Linked DNA regions of Homo sapiens: region 2 is linked to region 1. Evidence: promoter capture Hi-C in 16 types of primary human blood cells and fetal thymus (Javierre and others, 2016). All regions are on one chromosome and are shown on one strand. The core of a region is centred on a gene start or on the middle of the fragment in contact, and the rest is flanking DNA. Distances in the headings are between cores, read along the strand shown.

Region 1 (4,945 bases), core at 2,407-4,906:
ATGGATGAGAAATAATATCCAGCTCCACACTGGCCATTGAGAGGCTAGACATTAGGGAAAATATTATTTCTAGCCTCAATTTATCTTTAGAGCTCCAGCCTTCCATTTTCAGTTGCTATTGCTAATAATAACAATAAGTAATGTATATATTGGTTACTCTGGGCCAGGCACTTTTCTAAGCACTTTAAATATATTAACTATTTCATGAACATTTCTAGTTGGTCATTCCTTGATCATCTCAAATTTCATATGACTTAAAGTGAACTTGTGATTCCACATTTCCCTTACCTCCTGGCTACTTTCCAAACCTGCCATTTTTTCCTTCTCTTCATCTTGGCTAATAATATAACCAGAATCAGCAGTTACCTGATAATCTTAAAGTTATTTCTCCTTACAATTAATCCCTTTATCTAATGATCACAAATAATAAGCTCTGAAAGAAAGCAATTATGTTCTAGGCACTGTGTTATCTCATTTAATCTTCACAACCTATGAAGTAGGTACTATCATTATCTCCCAATTAATAGATGAAAAATGGGAGATTCAGAGAGGTTAAGTAATTTGCCCAAGGTCACATGGCTTGATAAATGAGAAAAACTAGATTCAAAACTAGGTTTGTATGACTCTACAGTCTGTGCACAAAGTCCCGTTGATTTTATCTCGGAAATGTTTGTCTCCTGATCCCTTATTTCCATACCTGTTGCTAGTGCCATAGTTTAAGATCTCTAATCATCTTTCGCAAGCAATACTACCAACCTCCTAAATTTATTTCTTTCCAGGATCTTCCCTTCCAGTCCACCTTATCTCATCTTCATAAAACATACTGTTGGGTTTTTTGTTTCTCTGTTTTGAGACTCTGGGTGACTCTGTCACCCAAGCTTGAGTGCAATGGTGTGATCACGACTCACTGCAGCCTCGACCACCTTGACTGAAGAGATTTCACCTTCGGCCCCTAAGTAGGTGGGACTACACTACAAGTGTGTGCCACTGCACTGGCTAAAATCTTTATTTTCTGTAGAGAAAGGGTCTCCCTATGCCGCCCAGGCTGGTCTCGAACTCCTGGGCTCAAGGGATCCTCCCGCCTCAGCCTCCAAAAGTGCTGGGATTGCAGGCGTGAGCCACTGTACCCTGCCAAAGCAAACCTTTGATGATCCTTTGTTGCAAAATAAAGAGCAAACTCTTTATAATGGCTTTACAAAATTCCTTTACAATTCAGTTTCTTGATCCCATTCCGTATCTTGCTTTCCTTCTTTTTTTTTTTTTTTTTTTTTTTTTTGAGACAGGGTTCTCCCACCTCACCCTCCCAAAGTGCTGGGATTACAGGTGTGAGCCACCATGCCTAGCCATGACTGGCTTCTTCTGTACATTAATCTTGCTGCCCTATGGGATATTTCAGCTGTAGCATACACAACCCACTAGCAACTTCCTCATGTCTCTCAATTAAAAACTCTTGCAAGACAATGCATCATTTTGACCAAGTCCCAGAAGTTATTGGTTTTCTTAGCCAGTTAGATAGGCCCAACTTGGTTAGGTAGTTAACTCCGTTAGCTGTGACCAATATGAGCTATGTCTGTTGGACATCATGGGTTTGCAGAGATTTTTCTGAGGGAGGAGGGCAGAGGATGGGCAGAGCAGACCTACATTATTACAGAAAGATGGAACTAGGATTCCAACCCAGGTCTTCTGACCCCCAGTCAAATACTTCTTCCACTTGAAGAAGCAACCTATTAAAATTAAAAAAGTTAACATGAAGCTCTTTTCACTTTTTCCATTGAAAAGCTACTAGCAGGCTACACATATATTACAATCTGAATTAATATACTATGCATACATGTAAATATTGACTGATTTCTTTAGTACCAATAAGTTGGTATTCTAGATAGGTCTTCATTATTTGTCACAAAGATAGCAAACTGTTCCTATGATGGTATCATTGAAGGATTTTGTGAACACACTGATTTTTAACCTTACTTGGCTTAGATAAGTGGTATACAGACCAATCCATAGTTTAAGCACAGGCAGGGAGATATGGCAACTCGGTTTTTTCCCCTACATAGGCATTATTAACCTTGGGCAAAAGAAAGCCAAGTTTTCTAAGCAGGAAAGCAACAAAAGCAAAATGAAACTTCTGAGTTAAAACCATTTGCTGCTGTGGGCATACAGATGTGGGACAAATGAATTTTAATAAGCCTTTAGAATTATTAAGACCCTTTAAGAATAAATTAATTCAAAATTAGGGAATATTATTGGAATATGAGACAAGTGGGAATTAACTTTTTTTTTTAAGAGACAGGGTCTCGCTATGTTTCCCAGGCTGGAGTGCAGTAGCTATCCACAGGTGTGATTATAACCTTGAACTCCCAGACTCCAGTGATCTTCCTCTCAGCCTCCCAAATAGCTGGGACACTGGCTAATTTTAATTATGCAAATACATCTGTATTCAACCTGGGGTCAGTACAACCAATAGGACAAATCGTGTCTTTCGTCAGTTGGAACATATTGCAGGTGCTCAGAAATTCCAAGTATTACACCCTAAAATGATATTATTTAGTGTAGATTTTAAATTTTTTTCTATCATAAATCATCTGACCCTAGATGTTCACATGTATAGCACACGGTCAGGCGTATACCCAGGATTATGCATTTCAGGAAATACATAAGCGTGCAAGTTTGTGCAAGAATTGTCTTCCTGAGTGGGTTCTAATTAAAATACAAAACGAAACTAAATATCCTCATTTTTGAAACAATTACTTATAATGTATCTCAAAGGGAATTCTTGAGACACCCTCTTCAATAAAAAATTAAATTCGAAAATGTATACAAGAGCTTTGGGAGTTAAGATGAAAACAAAGATATTTCGTGGGAGTTTTGAGACAAGAAGGAATACATTCAAATACAAAATAAACTATCCTGAATTTCTCCTGGATTGCCATTCTTGTAAAATTTTAGATATTGCACATTTTCATAATCTAACTCACGGCAGCCCCAACATAAAACTAGTCCTCTGCGGGAATTGCAACTAGATTAGCGGCAACGGTTTGACGCGGATCCGGGGGGAGGGCGGGAGCAAGGCAGGGAGAGAAGGAGCCACCTGCCCAGGACATGCAGCTTATCTCTAGAGAAACGGGTTTTGCAGCACAAAGTAGCCTGTGTCCGATTCATCTATTTTCTGCCTTGTTCCTTCAAACGGAAACCTAACAAAGACCACGGGCAGCCAAGGGCCGCAGCCGGGGACCCAACCCTGGTCACCAAGCCCGCGGAGTGGCCGCACGCGGGGCGGCCGGGTCCCCCAAGCTGCGCGTCCCGAGCTAGCGAGATCCCAGCCTGACAGGCGACGCCGGCAGCTCCCCGTCGCGACCGAACAGCGGCCCAGCACAGGCTGCCGAGGCCAGCGGACGGCCCAGCCGGCCCCTCGCGTGCTCTGGGCGCGCCGAGCCTCCACACTCACCATCTCGATGATCTTGGTCTTCCGCCCCGTCTTCCTCTTCAAGGTGAATATGTACTGAGCCAGCACCACCCCCGCCACCAGGGCGCACACGCTGGCGCTCGCTACCGCGCCCACCCTCGCCACGGCCGCGCGGTCCATGGACGGGGCCCTCATGCGCGTCCAAGCAGGAAAAAAACAGGCAGCTCGCGTAGACTGCGAGTCTCGGAAGCGCGGGATCCCAGAGCATCACGGACGAGCCCGCGACGCCCCGCCCCGCGCAGCGACGCCCCGCCCCGCGCAGCTCCGCCCCCACGAAGCCCCACCCACACGCCATCGATGGGAGAGGCCAGGACGCGGCGGGAGGGGTGTGGCCTGTGCCCGGAGCCCAGGCTGGAGGCGGCCTTCAGCAGACTCAGGGTCTCACGAGCTGCTGTCAGGGCAGGGCAGAGTATTGCGGTAATTATCCTTCTCTGCTAATGAGGATTAGGCCGTGGTTCGCTCGAGCCCCGCCCCAGTAGAAATCTAATTCCAACTGCGGCCCGCTAAGAAGTCGGTCTCCGCCTTCGCGCCTCAGCCCCTCTGGACTCCGACCCCCAGAAGGCTGCGCGGCACGGTGTGACCTGCGCAGTGGCGTCCGTTCTAAGTGCTATAACAACAGGGGGAAGATGGCTCAGAGTTAGGCTGGAGAGGGGCGGTGTCCCTTCCGCCGCAGCCGCGGGGTTTCTGCTACATCCCATTCGCCACCTCCGCCATCCTTTTTTCTGTGTGAGCAGAAGGGCTTGCAGTTGTTCTCTCCTGCCTAGTGTCTTCCAAGGGATAGATGCCATTTCTTCTGCTGGTCTCTGGGGGTGAGGAGGGGCGCAGGGGAGCTTCTTGGGGGAATCGCTCCAACTCTGTGGAGCTGGTGGTGCTGCCTGGTGGGGCTCTCTCTGCCCAGGACGTGGAACAACTTTCAGCCGGAGGACTAGAGGAAATAGTTGTAGGGGAGGAAAAATTGTTTCCTTCTAGCCTTTTAGGTCATTTGGCTGGTCTACAAATTAAATTGATGTAAGACAGAGGAACATGAGAAAAACGATTTGTCGACCGAAAGGTGAAATAACAGGTACTAAAACTTAAAGAAATCATGGTTAGTTTTATTACTCGGCCAAGTTTGAGGACTTAAGCCTGGGAACACAGACTCAGTATAGACCGAGAACGTGTCCCAAAGTAAGTTAGCTGGGAGTATAACCTGAAGAAGACTGAGTTTTAATACCCAGAATATTTGAGTATCAATATCTAGACTACTGTGTCATTTTGTCGCCAAAGTAATTTTTTATGAATCCAGTTTTGCACCAAATACCAATATGACTTAAATGTTGTCTGATTGTGAGGCCTAAGATGGTCACAGTCTCATTTATCTTTCTTCCTCAACAAAAACATTTTCCATATATTACATATTATTTTGAATGGGTAGAGACTAAAGCCACGTTTCTATAATTTCAGGATTTTAAACATTTTGTAGACGATAACATTCGTCTT
Region 2 (4,762 bases), core at 1,757-4,256, 180 kb before region 1:
AAAAAAAATTAGCCGGGCATGGTGGTGTGTGCCTGTAATCCCAGCTACTTGTGAGGCTGAGGCACAAGAACCACTTGAACCTGGGAGGCAGAGGTTGCAGTGAGTCGAGATAGCACCACTGCACTCCAGCCTGGGTGACAGATTGCGACTGTCTTTAAAAAAAAAAAAAAAAAATTGTAGGCATAGCAAAGGCAACAACTGGTGTTTGAGCCTTAGCTTCTGCAATCATCATGGGATGTGTTAGGGAATGTGAAGTTTCGGTATCTTCATACAAAGTCAGTCAGCCCTGAAAGGTCAAATGAAATCTATCCTGTCTATAGCTGCCATTAAAGAACAGCAGAACAGGCGGTGCGCAGTGGCTCACGCCTGTAATCCCAGCACTTCGGGAGGCCAAGGCAGACGGATCACAAGGTCAAGAGTTTGAGACCAGCCTGACCAACATGGTGAAACCCCATCTCTACTAAAATTACAAAAATTAGCCCAGGCGTGGTGGTGCGTGCCTGTAATCCCAGCTACTTGGGAGGCTGAGGCAGCAGAATCACTTGAACCCAAGAGGCAGAGGTTGCAGTGAGCCGAGATCGCGCCACTGCACTGCACTCCAGCCTGGACAACAGAGTGAGATCGTCTCAAAAAAAAAAAACAAAAACAAAACAAAACAGCAACATCAAACTCACTAATGATTGCTGCTTATGTCTGTTAATATTTGTAGTAGAAATATACAGGTCCACATTTAATTCACCTTTATTCTCCCTGTCCCTTTCAAATATTAAGTCAAAATTACCTAAAAGCAAAGAACAAATAAAGCAATCCATCTATGCCTTGGCTTCTATTCTGCTCAGGAAACGTACAACAAAGACGCAAAAGATCATAAAAATGTAAAGTTAAGCTTTATGTATTTGTTATTAGCAAAGAGTAACTAAATTAACTTCTGCATTCAGAGGCATAGAGAACACCAACGTTACTAGTTATTAAATATTTAAATCTGGCAAAGAGTCTAGTTAGTATAAAGAAATATCACAAATGGTAATAGTAAAGAGTGAGAAAAAATATATTTTGTAAAGAAAAGTCTTAACCTATCTAACAGCACCAATTTTTACCCTCTAAAAATTACTATTTGAGCCTATAACTTGTCAGTTTAAAAACAGAGATCACTGTTTTCTAAAGGCAGCATTTTAAAATCTCAAAGTGTAAATTATCCCATTTTTCTTTCTCTTTTAATGGAAAAAGAATATTCTAAACCTTTCTGCCTTCCCAACATTAAAACTTTACCTTAGTTAATTGCAACACATTTCTTGTATTTCAACCTTTATAAAACTTCTTTCATGTGTCTCTTACACATGCAAGAATGAGATTTGCCAAGTACTACATCATCTGAATAGAAACCTTAAGCAAAACTTAAAAACAAAAATTGAGATGTGGCTTTTTAAAAAATTAAATAACATTTCAAAGAATTTCTATTTAAAACATTAAAAGTACTTACCTGAAATAAGAGCTACATGTTGCAAGAACCATCTTATGACAAGGGAATTCAGTGCCCTCAACAATTAACACTATGTCAGTAAACAACTGCTGTTCATAAAACAGTTTCAACTGTTCCAACAATGACACAGCATATTCAGTATTGATCTGCCTCTCGTCTTGAGTGGACATGACTGTATTCCATTAATATCTCCAGGAACAGATTAGAAAAGTCCGTCTTACTGATGGAAGGTCAAGTGAATACTTCAGAAATAAAGGAGAACCTACTTGCTGTTATCTGCAGCATTCAGTACCAAGACTGACACATTCACTAATGAGTAATATCTTGTTACACAGACTTAGAATCACTCCTAGGTCATCCTGTGTTAATTAGGTTCTTCAGAGTTTTTCAACACAGTCTGCAGACATTGTGCTCAAATCTGCAATTGTGCAGCTCATGAGTGAAAGAGAAAAATACACGAGGTAGATTTTGTGGCAACATCCTATGTTCAGCGGATCCTGTGGAGTAACTAAAAAGAAAAAAAGTTCAGTTGTAGTATCTAGGCCAGTACGGTTTTAGAATATAACGTTTAAAATGGCAGCCTTAAATAGAAATCATATTTATTTCAAGTTCAACTTTAGACATTACCATAAAAGTGAAACATGACAAAAATGAAGATTCTTAGTCTACATTTAAAATTAAAAAACAAGAAAATTACCAGTTGTAATTTCAAGTTAACTTTTGCCTTCTATACAAAATATAACTGTCACAGAAAATAACGAACACATGAATAAGTACACATTTTTAAAGCTCTTTCAAAATAGACAACTTAAATTACCAAAGCCAGATCTCTTAGTTATTTGTCTGGTAGCAACAAATGATCATAATATTTAAGAAAAAATATTTTTTTAAAAAAACAAAAAACCTGCTCTCCTACACAGAGATTTCTCGTTCTCCGAATATATTTTAAACACGTTCACAAAGTCTTCATATTTAATTTAAACTATACGGTAAATAGATTCAAACTGTTAATTTTCAAATTTGCCATTCAATTCACTAGGAGAACTATATGTAATTTGTTTCTTTGTGGAGTGGTTCTTTCCTAGGAATCTTTACAAATAAAAGTATATTTTACTTAAAAAAAAAAAACATAAAATGTAATGGGTATATGTTCCTACCCAGAAAACTCCATATTACACAAATATGAATGTTCTCCGAATTAATATGTAACTTTAATACAAATCCAATCTAAATCCTATTTTCAAGGGATTTATCTGGAAGAATGCACAAAGGTTGCTAAGATATTTGAGGGGAAGAAGGGCAAGTTTTTAATGATTTTTATGAAAATATTAAATGTACTATAAAACTGCCATAAAACCAAGTACACATAAGAAACCAGAGATGACTGGCCGGGCACAGTGGCTCATGCCTGTAATCCCAGCACTTTGGTAGGCCGAGGCAGGCGGATCACAACGTCAGGAGTTCGAGACCATCCTGACCAACATGGTGAAATCCTGTCTCTATTAAAAATACAAAAGTTAGCTGGCCGTGGTAGTGTGTGCCTGTAATCCCAGCTACTCAGGAGGCTGAGGCAGGGGAATTGCTTGAACCCGGGAGGTGGAGATTGCAGTGAGCCAAGATCGCACCACTGCACTCCAGCCTGGGTGACAGAGCAAGACACCGTCTCAAAAAAAAAAAAAAAGAAATTAGATATGATAAAGATAAATATGGTATCTCAAGTTAGGAAGAATGGTTTATTTCAACAAATAATGTTGGAAGTGGCTAACTGCTCAAGGGGGCAAAAAAACCTAGGCTTTAGTCATACTGCATACCATTCATCAAAAAAAAAAACCAAAATTCCAGCTGAATAAAAATTTAATTTGGAACTCAGTATTCACAACACATGGCAAAGGAATTACAAATCAGGAAAAGAGGAAAATCCCAAATAGAATGCTACTAATATGTTAACTATAAAAACTGCCACCTCTTTTTTCACCAACTGTTAAGATGACCATTAGTTACCATAATGAGAAATGACTCCATCATTAGAATCACTGTTATTTTTCCTCACAAAATACCATCCATTATGTCAAAGAGAATGACATACACTTCCTGACAAACTATACTATTACAGTAACTGCTAACTTGATATACAGTCAAGTTTCCAGCCAAGTTAACTTTGAAAGTAACTAAAACAGGTGCAAAGGCAGAGTGAGACTCTGGGTCATTTAAGGTAATAACTTTGCTCTTCCAGAACAGCATGTCACACTATAAATCTGAGTTCTACTACTATAATCTCTAAGGCAAATAATACTTAAAATCACTGGCTATTTCCACACATTAATAATGCAGCAAGGCATAGTGTTGTTGAGGGTGTGGAAAAACAAGCATTCTTACACAGAGGAGTAAGTTGATACATACCCACAATCCCTTATTCAAAACTCTTGACACAAGACACGCTCCAGAATTTACACTTTTCCAGATTTTATAGAGGTATTGTGACACATGTACCCTACATTATGAAATCCTCTCAAGAAGTCTCAGGTAGCAATGGATAATCAAACATATTATCTTTGCTGAGGCAACTATGAATGGTGTCAAAAATAAAGACTATATATAGCCTCACGTTACTTCAGGTCAGGTTTTACTAGCAAAGATTTTTTTTTTTTAACAACTTGATTTTTCAGAGCTTTTTGAATTTCAAAATTGCAAGTATTAATAATACTTGGCACTGGAAATGCTTAATACCAATCTACTAATCCTACTTCTAGAAATATATTTTACAGAAATATATGCATTAATAAAGTAGAAGTCCTAATCCCAGTAGCTGGACTCAAAATTGTCCCCATCCATGTTTAAACAAGGTGACAGCAACTGGTGGCCAGGGCCAAGACAGACTTAAATCATGCCGCTAGACCCCAGAATTTCTTGCAGGCTAGCGGTACAGGCTCACTCTGGTCATTTCATTAACCATATAATAATATGATTTTCTGCAATGATTTTGGGGAGGCCTCATTTACGACTGGGTTTTGCCAGATTTGATTTTTTATCGTATCCATGAAACCGTATTAAAACAATTGAAGTCTGCTTCTAAAAAAGTACAAAGTCATACTCATTAACACAGCTTTATTAGATTCCCCTATTTCCCACTCTTCTTTTGTAATCCAGGATACATTTTCTTCCTGGAGAGGCAGCCTACGTAAAAGTTACCTTAAAATAGGCAGAAAAAGTAAGTCATTCAGATATGACACTAAGTAAATAAACAAGTACAATTAAAAATAAAATTAAAGTCAGGAGTGGTGG

The links. The method cuts DNA at HindIII sites, captures the fragments that hold promoters and counts their contacts. A CHiCAGO score of 5 or more calls a contact.
Region 2: a fragment that was not itself captured here is called in contact with the fragment with the promoter of NT5C3A in region 1 in 1 of 17 cell types (neutrophils); the score reaches 8.7 in neutrophils.

Annotation. Positions count from the first base shown.
Region 1 is chr7:33,059,120-33,064,064 of GRCh38, forward strand. NT5C3A (5'-nucleotidase, cytosolic IIIA) reads right to left here and starts at 3,657. Exons shown (of 9, transcript NM_001002010.5): 1 at 3,449-3,657. The coding sequence starts at 3,586. LOC124901610 (a long non-coding RNA gene) reads left to right here and starts at 4,066. Exons shown (of 4, transcript XR_007060279.1): 1 at 4,066-4,529; 2 at 4,910-4,945. RefSeq lists silencers at 3,292-3,351, 3,652-3,771 and an enhancer at 4,012-4,171. The HindIII fragment of the contact is 6,622 bases long and covers 877-4,945 here.
Region 2 is chr7:32,877,955-32,882,716 of GRCh38, forward strand. KBTBD2 (kelch repeat and BTB domain containing 2) reads right to left here. Exons shown (of 4, transcript NM_015483.3): 2 at 1,481-1,988. The coding sequence starts at 1,650. Among named protein-coding and RNA genes, the nearest start is that of KBTBD2, 11 kb to the right of the region's middle. The HindIII fragment of the contact is 4,245 bases long and covers 885-4,762 here.